2 separate regions of the Homo sapiens genome follow, and region 2 is linked to region 1. The links are contacts of gene promoters, found by promoter capture Hi-C in human tissues and cell types (Jung and others, 2019). All regions are on one chromosome and are shown on one strand. Each heading gives the region's core, a stretch centred on a gene start or on the middle of the fragment in contact. The rest is flanking DNA. Distances are from core to core; before and after follow the strand shown. Region 1 holds the start of ZNF579 (zinc finger protein 579). Region 2 overlaps MYADM-AS1 (MYADM antisense RNA 1).

Evidence for each region. Contacts are between HindIII fragments. The study calls those that stand out against the background at their distance.
Region 2: a fragment that was not itself captured here is called in contact with the fragment with the promoter of ZNF579 in region 1 in 1 of the 25 tissues and cell types used here (spleen).

Annotation. Positions count from the first base shown.
Region 1 is chr19:55,578,199-55,582,973 of GRCh38, forward strand. ZNF579 (zinc finger protein 579) reads right to left here and starts at 2,650. Exons shown (of 2, transcript NM_152600.3): 1 at 2,597-2,650; 2 at 1-1,443. The coding sequence starts at 1,441. RefSeq lists silencers at 2,854-2,993, 3,705-3,999. The HindIII fragment of the contact is 17,237 bases long and covers 1-4,775 here.
Region 2 is chr19:53,851,475-53,856,249 of GRCh38, forward strand. It overlaps MYADM-AS1 (MYADM antisense RNA 1), which reads right to left. Exons shown (of 3, transcript NR_184033.1): 3 at 760-3,161. Among named protein-coding and RNA genes, the nearest start is that of MYADM, 14 kb to the right of the region's middle. The HindIII fragment of the contact is 6,687 bases long and covers 1-4,775 here.

The DNA of each region.
Region 1 (4,775 bases), core at 1,400-3,899:
GGGCCTGGGCCTGCAGTGCCTGCAGCGCGGCGGCCCTCTCCAGCTCTGCGCGGTGGCAGCGCTGGTGGCGCAGGAGGCTGTAGGCGCGCGAGAAGCGGCGCGGGCAGCGGGGGCACGGGTGCGGGGCTGGGCCCCCCGCGTGCACCTGTGCGTGGCGCGCCAGGTCGGCCAGGCGCTTGAACTCCCGCTGGCAGCGCACGCACTGGAAGGGGCGCGCTCCCGAGTGGGTCACCCCGTGCTGCCGCAGGTGCGCCCGGCGCCTGAAACCTTTGCCGCACTCTGGGCACCAGAAGCGGGGCTCCCCGGCGGGGGGCCGAGCCGGGGCGGCGTCGCCTCCGTTCTGCCCTTCTCCCCCTTCCGAGGCACCCCCGCACTCCGCCCCCTCGCCCCCCTCCGGCCCCTTGGCTGAGTTCCGTGCACCCGAGGCCTTGTCGTCCTTCTTGCCCGCCGCGGGCAGCGGGGCCAGCAGGCTGAGGGGGCCGTGGACGCGGCGGTGCTGGCGGAGGTAGGAGGCGAGGCGGAAGGCCAGGCCGCAGTCTGGGCACACGAAAGGGCGGTCGGTGGAGTGGACCAGCCGGTGGCGCGACAGGGACCAGGGCCTGGCGAAGGCCTTGAGGCAGATGGAGCACTGGTGTCGCTTGGGGCGTGGCGGGGGCCCCCCTTCCCCTTCCTGTTCGCCCTCGGGGCGCAGACACGGGTGCGCCTTGAGCTCGCCCTTGGTGGCGAAGGCTTCGCGGCAGCGCAGACACAGCAGCGTCCAGTCTGCCTGGAGCAGGACCTGTTTCTCCTCCTGCCGCCCGGCCGCCAGCGCCAGCTCGGCCCTCAGCTCTGCTGCCCCGGCCTCGGCCTCCTCCGACTCCGACTCCCGGGGCTCCGCGGCGCTGGTGGGCGCAGCCAGCGTGGAAGGCTCCCCCGCAGGCCACGTCTCAGGCCACGCTGCGACCGCCTCCTCCTCCGTGGCCCCTGCTGCAGCGGTGGTGGGCGGCTCCGAGCCCTCGTCCTGCGGGCCCCAGCTGGGTTCGGCCGTCTCCTTGGCCACCCTCTCGATGGCCAGCTCGACCTCGCCGCCCGCGTGCTCCTGAGCCAGGTGGCGCCTGAGCTGGGCCGGTTCTGGGAAGGTGCGGGGGCAGGCGGCGCAGCGCAGCGGGGGCTGGGGCCCGTGGCCGCGCAGGTGGCGGGAAAGGTGGGCCGGCCGGCGGAAGGCCTTGGGGCACAGCGGGCAGGCGTGGGGCCGGAGCCCCGAGTGGCTCAGCCGGTGCCGGGAGAGGTAGTAGGGGAAACGGAAGAGGCGGCCGCAGGTGGGGCAGGGCAGGGGCGCCCTAGGGGCTCCAGCGCCCCCCCTGCCACGGCCACGGCCCCGACCACGGCCTCGGCCACGGCCCCGGCCTCGGCCACGGTGAGGTGGGCTGCCCTGGGCGGGTGGAGGAGGCTGCGGATCCATGCCTGTGGGGAGAGAGGGGAGAGATGGGAAGCGGGGCAGAGATAAAAAGAGGTGCGTGGGGTGTGGCAGAAAGAGAAGCAGAGACAGTCAGAGATGGAGAGGCAGAGAGGGTCAGGTATTTAGCCAGGAGAGAGATATGAGACAGAGACAAAGATGAGAGACACCGAGGGGAGGCCAGAGATGGAGAGACAGGAGGAGAGAGATCAGAGACAGAGCGACAGAGCAGGGAATAGAGACAGGAGAAGGCAGAGATGGGAGACACAGAGAAGTGGGGATGGACAGACAGAGACCAGGAGTCGCAGAAAGACAGGATGGTGAAAGGCAGAGCAGAGAAGAGACAGAGGAGAGTGAGGAACACCCAGCAGAGAGACAGAGACACAGAGAAGAGGAAACAAAGAGACTTGGAGAACCAGAGGCAGAGATAGTGCAAGAGCAGAGATCAGAAGAGCAGTGGCGGGTTGGGGGCCGGAGAGACAGGGAGACAGAGACACAGAGGGAGTGAACTGGGCAGAGGCACGGAGGGGGACAAAGTCAGCGAACCGCTTCTGCTCCAGGTCCCCCGGCCAGGCTGAACGTTTTGGGAGGGGCTGGGACACAGCCCATGGGGCCTGAGTGGAGGGGGTGGGATTTGAAGCCGGTAGGCCCCGGAAATAGAGTGTGTTCTCAGATGCCAGGGGCTGGGAGAGGTCGGGGAGTAGGAGGGTTCAGACTTCTGGTCTGAGTTGGGAGGGGGCTAGGGGCCCAGACTCTTGGGACTGATGGGGATGGGAGCTGGGGATTGAGACTCCTGGGTCCAGGTCATGACGGATTGGGGAATCTGGACTCTGGTATGGAGGAGGTGTGGATTCCTGGGTCCCGGTGGAGGAGGGGCTGGGGAGGGGGCTGGGCTCCCAGGACAAGGGGGAGGCGGGGGCTGGGGACCCAGCTGCCGGGAATCCCCAGGGAGGAGGCGACTGAGGGCCGGACCCCTGGACTCGGGAGGGAGGCTGGTGGGGGTCGGGGGTCCCAGGTCCTAGAGGGGGGCCGATCTCCTCCGGGCCAAGCCTGCAGCTCCCCGAAGGCATGATCAGCAGAATTGGGGCCGGGTCGAGGCCTTGAGGATTTCTCAGCCCTGGGCCTGGGGCTTGGTCCTGGTCGCTGGGGCTGGGTTCTTACCTCGCCTCCTTGGCTCCTTTCTTCCTTCCCCACGGCCGGCCAAACGCGGACGGTGGTGGCGGGGAGGGAGGGGGGCCTGAGCGTGGTGGGGGGTGGAGGAGGAGGCTGGGCTCGGTGTCACTGCCTAAGCCTTCCCCCCGGAAACCTGGCCTTTCCTCGGAGCCTGAAAGAGGAAAGACTGGCTGGGAAGCCGGAAGCGGGAGGACGGGGGACCTGGAGAGGGGAGGGAAGGCAGCTTGCACTACAGGGTCCTGTGAGGGGAGGGGGCTGGGGGCCTGTCCCCCGGGCTCCCAGAGGGCGGAGGGTGCTGAGGGCCTGGAACACTGGGTCCAGCTACTCCCGGCTCCCCAACATGCACACACACATATTCATTCATTCCTTCAACAAATACACATTTATCAGGTCCTGTCTGTGCCAGGCACTGTGTCAGGCCAGGGGAGTGGCCGGGGGAGGAAGATGAATGAATCAGTGACAGAGGCTTCAGGAAGTACTGGCACTCTGGATCAGAACCTGGCTCCAGCCTTCCCTTGGCTGTCTGGGTGAAGGATTCTCCCACTTCGAGCCTCGGTTTCCCCCTTTGTGAAAGCCCCTGCATATACTCATTCAACCCTAAGCGACCAATATTTACTGAATATCTACTACGGGCCAGCCTGCATATATTTGTCTACATATACGCATATTCACTGGGACCTTAGCAGCCAATGTTTACTGAGCACCTACTATGGGCTGGTGCTGTCCTTGGTGCTGGAGTCACAGTGGCAAAAACCGGAGCTCACTGTCTGATGGGGAAGGCAGATAGATACGGATCAATCACGCTGGAGTGCATGTGGGGGAACGTGTGCTCCGAGGCAGGGAACTGCTATGGGAATGCAGAGAACAGAAGGCACTGAGCTGAGCTCACACTGGGAGGAGGTGATTCCTGAGGTCTTCCTGGAGGCAGCAATGTTTCAGCTGAAATTGGCAGAATGAAACCAACCTGGCGACATCTCAGAAACCTATTCTGGAGCAGAAAAGGCATTTTGCAGGAGTATACCCACAGCTTGACGCTGTTTGTTTAAGGTTACATTCCTGCCAAACAGTGCTAATGAGAGTGCGAGCAAACAGGTCCTTTCATACACGGCTGGGGCAAGTAGAACCTGGAACATTCTTACCGAGCCAGCAATTCCAGGAATTTATTCTTCAGAGGCATCTACTCGGAACTGCACAAAATAATGTCTGCACCAGGTTAATCATTGCAGTACTGCACATCACTGCAAACAGCTGAAACCAATCTAAACACCCATCTGTAGGAGAGCTGAGTAATAAATCATGACTGATCCACCCAGTGGAATACTAGGTGTCCATAGAAAAGAACAAAGAAGCTCACCGTGTGCATATATGGTAAGTCTCCAAGTGATAACCTGTAGAAGAGAAAAATGGAAGGTCAAGTACAGCCTGCAGCCTGTTCTGGGTTTGTGTGTGTTCTGGGATTGTGTCCAGATGAACTGGAACAAGAGAGAAGAAACTGAAACTGGCAACATAGTCTAACTTCCAGGACAGAAATTTACTACACTCTATCCTTGTTTTTTTGTTTGTTTGTTTTTTTTTGTTTTGTTTTGTTTTCTTTTGAGATGAGATCTCCTTCTGTTGCCCAGGCTGGCTGGAGGAAGTGCAGTGGTGTGATCTCGGCTCACTGCAGCCTCGACCTCCCGGGCTCAAGCAATCCTCCCACCTCAGCCTCCTGAGTAGGTGGGGCTACAGGAGTGTGCCACCATGTCTGGCTAATTTTTGTATGTTTTGTAGAGATGGGGTCTCCCTATGTTGCCCAGGCTGGGCTTGAACTCCTGGGCTCAAGCAATCCACCTGCCTCGGCCTCCCAAAGTGCTGGAATTACAGACATTAGCCACTGTGCCCGGCTTTTTGTACTTTTTGAATTCAAAACCGTGTGAATGTGCTATATACTCAAAAAAGTAAAGGAGGCCAAGCATGGTGGCTCACGCCTGTAATCTCAGCACTTTGGGAGGCCCAGGTGGGCAGATCACCTGAGGCCAGGAGTTCAAGACCAGCCTGGCCCACATGGTGAAACCCCATCTCTACAAAAGGTACAAAAATTAGCCAGGCATAATGGCACATGCCTATAATCCCAGCTACTCAGGAGGCTGAGGCAGGAGAATGGCTTGAACCTGGGAGGCAGAGGTTG
Region 2 (4,775 bases), core at 890-3,389, 1.7 Mb before region 1:
CGTCTCTACTAAAAATATAAAAATTAGGTGGGCATGGTGGGCGCCTGTAGTCCCAGCTACTCGGGAGGCTGAGGCAGGAGAATCGCTTGAACCCAGGAAGCGGAGGCTGGCAGTGAGCCAAGATCGCGCCACTGCACTCCATTCTGGGCAACAGAGCAAGAATCTGTCTCAAAAAAAAAAAAAGGAAAGAAAAAAGAAATCCTTGCCAATCCTGATATCCCAGAGATGTTTCCCAATGCCTTGCTCTTGAATATTTATAGTTTTATCTTTCACACTTAGACATGTGAACCATCTAGAAATGTATTTGGGGTACGGTGTAAGGTCGGGGTCCTGGACCGAATACAGCTCCACAAAAATGTCTGTTCTCGACTGCAAAAAAGCAATGTGACTTTGTGCACAGATCAAGTGCATCTGTTTCTGAAATCTGTAGTGTTCTGTGTCATCAGCCTGCATTTCCATGGTTGCGACAATACCACATTATTTGCCTCATTTCCTACCGCAGTTCCTCAATCACTCTGAATTCAGCGGCACTAGCCTCATTGCTCTCGGATGAGCACACCTATTGTGTACCACTCAGGGCGCCTGTGTCTGGACTGGCAGCCTTTCTTAGATGCTTTGGGTGGTGGTTCTGTCTTATCCTTCAGCCAGCAGCTCAGAGTCCTCCCCTCAAAAGGCCTTTCCCTGACCACTCCATCTAAAGTAGCTCACCCCAGCCTCCTATATCTTTTTTTTTTTAATAATGCAACAGAGAAGGTGATATAGGTGCATTGACAGGCCTTCTTTTATTAGCTTGAGCCATTATTATTATTATTATTATCTGAGATGGAGTCTTGCTCTGTCACCCAGGCTGGAGTGCAGTGGCACGATCTCGGCTCACTGCAACCTCTGCCTCCCAGGGTCAAGCAATTCTCCTGCCTCAGCCTCCTGAGTAGCTGGGATTACAGGCGTACACCACCATGCCCGACTAATTTTTGTAGTTTTAGTAGAGATGGGGCTTCACCATGTTGGTCAGACTGGTCTCGAACTCCTGACCTCGTGATCTGCCTGCCTCAGCCTCCCAAAGTGATGGGATTACAGGCGTGAGCCACCGTGCCCAGCCTTCTTCTTCTTCTTCTTCTTCTTCTTATCATCATCATTTTGAGATGGAGTCTCTACCTGTCACCCAGGCTGGATTGCAGTGGGGCGATCTTGGCTCACTGCAACCTCCGCCTCCCAGGTTCAAGCAATTCCCCTGCCTCAGCCTCCTGAGTAGCTGGGACTTGTATTTTTTAGTAGAGATGGGGTTTCCCCATGTTGCCCAGGCTGGTCTCAACTCCTGACCTCAGGTGATCCACCTGCCTCGGCCTCCCACAGTGCTGGGATGACAGGCATGAGCCACCACGCCCAGCCACCAGTCCCCTATATCTTATGTTCTGGTACATTTTGCTATACAAAAACAACTTATGTGTGTGTTTGCTGACTCATTGTCTCTCTCTTGCATGTGTGAACAGAGCAGCAGCAATAATGTTTGCATGTCTTGTTCACTGGCCATGTCCCCTGGGCATAGCATACGGTAGGGAATTCACTTTGGATGAAGAAAAATGATCCTCTTGCATCCATTCAGGATGAATGCATTCTACCCTCAGAGTCCTCTAGGGGGCACCCGCACATGAATGCGCCCCTGCAGGGCACAGTTCTTGAGTTGTTTTTGTTTAACTGGCCTGCACCTGTTATTTTGTTTGTGTGTGTGTTTGGGTTTCTTCTTCTTCTTCTTTTTTTTTTTTTTGAGACGGAGTTTTGCTCTTGTTGCCCAGGCTGGGGTGCAATGGCGCGATCTCAGCTCACAGCAACCTCCGCCTCCTGGGTTCAAGTGATTCTCCTGCCTCAGCCTCCTGAGTTGCTGGGATTACAGGCATGTGCCACCACACCCAGCTAATTCTGTATTTTTAGTAGAGATGGAGTTTCTCCATGTTGGTCAGGCTGGTCTCGAACTCCCGACCTCAGGTGATCCGCCCACCTCGGCCTCCCAAAGTGCTGGGATTACAGGCATGAGCCACTGCAACCAGTCTTTTTTTTTTTTTTTTTTTTTTTTTTTTTTTAAGATGGGGTCTTGCTCAGTTTGTCCAGGCTGGAGTGTAGCAGTGCAGTCACAGCTCACTGCAGCCTCGCACTCCTGGGCTCAAGTGAGCCTCCTGCCTCAGCCTCCTGAGTAGCTGGAACTATAGGCACAACCACCTTGCCTGGCTAATTAAAAAAAAAATTTTTTTTTTAAAGAGTCAGGGTCTTGCTATATTGGCCAAGCTGATCTCAAATTCCTGACCTCAAGTGATTCTCCCACCTCAGCCTCCCAAAGTGTTGGGATTCCAGGCATGAGCCACCATGCACCAGGTCTGGCCTACAGCTTTTAACTACACATTTAGAAAGAGAAACCACAAGTGGTAAAAGCCTGGGTTCTGCCCTAGATTACCCGAAATGAGCTATTTTTATAGAAGCCTCCTGTGTGCAGGGGCTCATGCTAGGCCCCAAGGGCAGGCAGAGGTTGTTTTTTGTTTTTTGTTTTTTAATTTGTTTCTTTTTGAGACAGGGTCTCACTCTGTCGCCCAGGCTGGATGCTGTGGTGCAATCTCAGACCTGCAACCTCTGTCTCCCAGGTTCAAGGAATTCTCCTGCCTTGGCCTCCGGAGTAGCTAGGACAACAGGCACGCACCACCACGCCCAGCTAATTTTTGTATTTTTAGTAGAGACGGGGTTTCACCATGTTGGCCAGGATGGTTTTGAACTCCTGACCTCAGATGATCTGCCCGCCTCAGCCTCCCAAAGTGTTGGGATTACAGGCGTGAGCCACCGCGCCTGGCCTAAGGCAGAGGTTGTTGACTGGTCTCAGTTGCTGCTTGGAAGGGCCCCAGTCTCCTGCAGGGAGGGAGGGAGGATCCCACTATGGCTCCCAGAACTTTGCTTCCCAGCAAGAGGCACTAAATCAATCCCATGCTTGAGGATGGTGGGCCCTGAGAGAAATGAATCTTGGCCTCCAAGTGTTCAGACTGTGTGGGGGACACCTGCTATTTACATTTGTGAAATGGGGCTGGTGACCTTGGCTCAGCGATGGGCTCCATCTCATCTCCTCCTGGAAGCTTGATGGAGGAAAAGCATCTACAGCCATTTGTTATCACTGGGCTCCTTGCCTGAAAGATTATAAATACTTCGTTAAAATACATACATCCATAGTGATGTGTTTTGACTTGGTAATAGATTTCAGGGTAGACGCAAGCCTCCTCAGCCACCCCTGTTTTCCAGTTGCCCAGAGTTCCTCCCTTTCTGTTTTTACTGATTTCTTCTGTATCTTTCTGGAAATATCCATTGCATATATATACACACACAGATATATATATATATGCATGTATAAATGTGTGTGTATATATATATGTGTGTGTGTGCCGATATAAGACATTGTTTTAAGTATTTTACGTGCATTGAGTCATGTAATATAAATATACTTTTATATTGCTAATACATTAATATGTTTAAAATAAGAAAATTATACAGGCCAGATGCAGTAGTTCACACCTATAATACCAGAGCTTTGAGAGGTCGAGGCAGGAGGATCACTTGAGGCCAGGAGTTCGAGACCAGCTTGAACAACATAGGGAGACCCCTGTGTCTACAAAATATAAAATAAAATATAAAAAATAAAACCCGGCTAGGCACAGTGGCTTACACCTGTAATCCCAGCACTTTGGGAGGCTGAGGTGGGCGGATCACAAGGTCAGGAGTCCAAGACCAGCCTGGCCAACATAGTGAAACCCTGTCTCTACTAAAAATACAAAAAAAAAAAAATTAGCCGGGCATGGTGGTAGGCACCTGTGATCCCAGCTACTCAGGAGGCTGAGGCAAAGAGAATCGCTTGAACCTGGGAGGTGGCGGTTGCAGTGAGCCGAGATCACGCCACTGCACTCCAGCCTGGGTGACAGTGTGAGACTCCATCTCAAAAAATGAAAAATAAAAATAAATAAATTAAGCCCGCCTGGCGTGGTGGCTCATGCCTATAATCCTAGCACTTTAGGAGGCCGAGGCAGGCAGATCACGAGTTCAGGAGTTCGAGACCAGCCTGGCCAACGTAGTGAAACCCTGTCTCTACTAAAAATACAAAAAATTAGCTGGGCGTGGCAGCATGCGCCTGTACTCCAAGCTTCTTGGGAGGCTGAGGCAGGAGAATTGCTTGAACCTGGGAGGTGGAGGTTGCTGTGAGAGCCGAGATTGTGCCACTGCACTCCAGTCTGGGTGACAGGGTGAGACTCTGTCTCTAATAAATAAATAAATAAGTAAAACAAACCCTAGCCAGGGAGACAGCTGTGGTCCCAGCTACTCAGGAGGCTGAGGTAGGAGGATCTCTCAGACTTAAGAGGTCAAGGCTGCAGTGAGTCGTGATCATACCACTGCACTCTAGCCTGGCAACAGGGTGAGACCCTGTAATAAAATACATAAACAGTGATGTGTTTTGACTTGGTAATATATTTCCGGGTAGACTGTAAGCTTCTCATCCATCCCAGTTTTCCCATTTTCCAGCGTTCCTCCCCTTCTGTTCTTATTGATGTCTTCTGTATCTTTTTGGAAATATCCATGGCATATATATATATATATATATATATATATACACACACACACACACACACACACACACACATATACACACATATACATGTGTGAATATACATGTGTGAATATATATGTACTGATACAAGGCATTATTCTAAGAATTTTACTTTTATTTTTATTTTTATTTTTTTGAGACAGAGTCT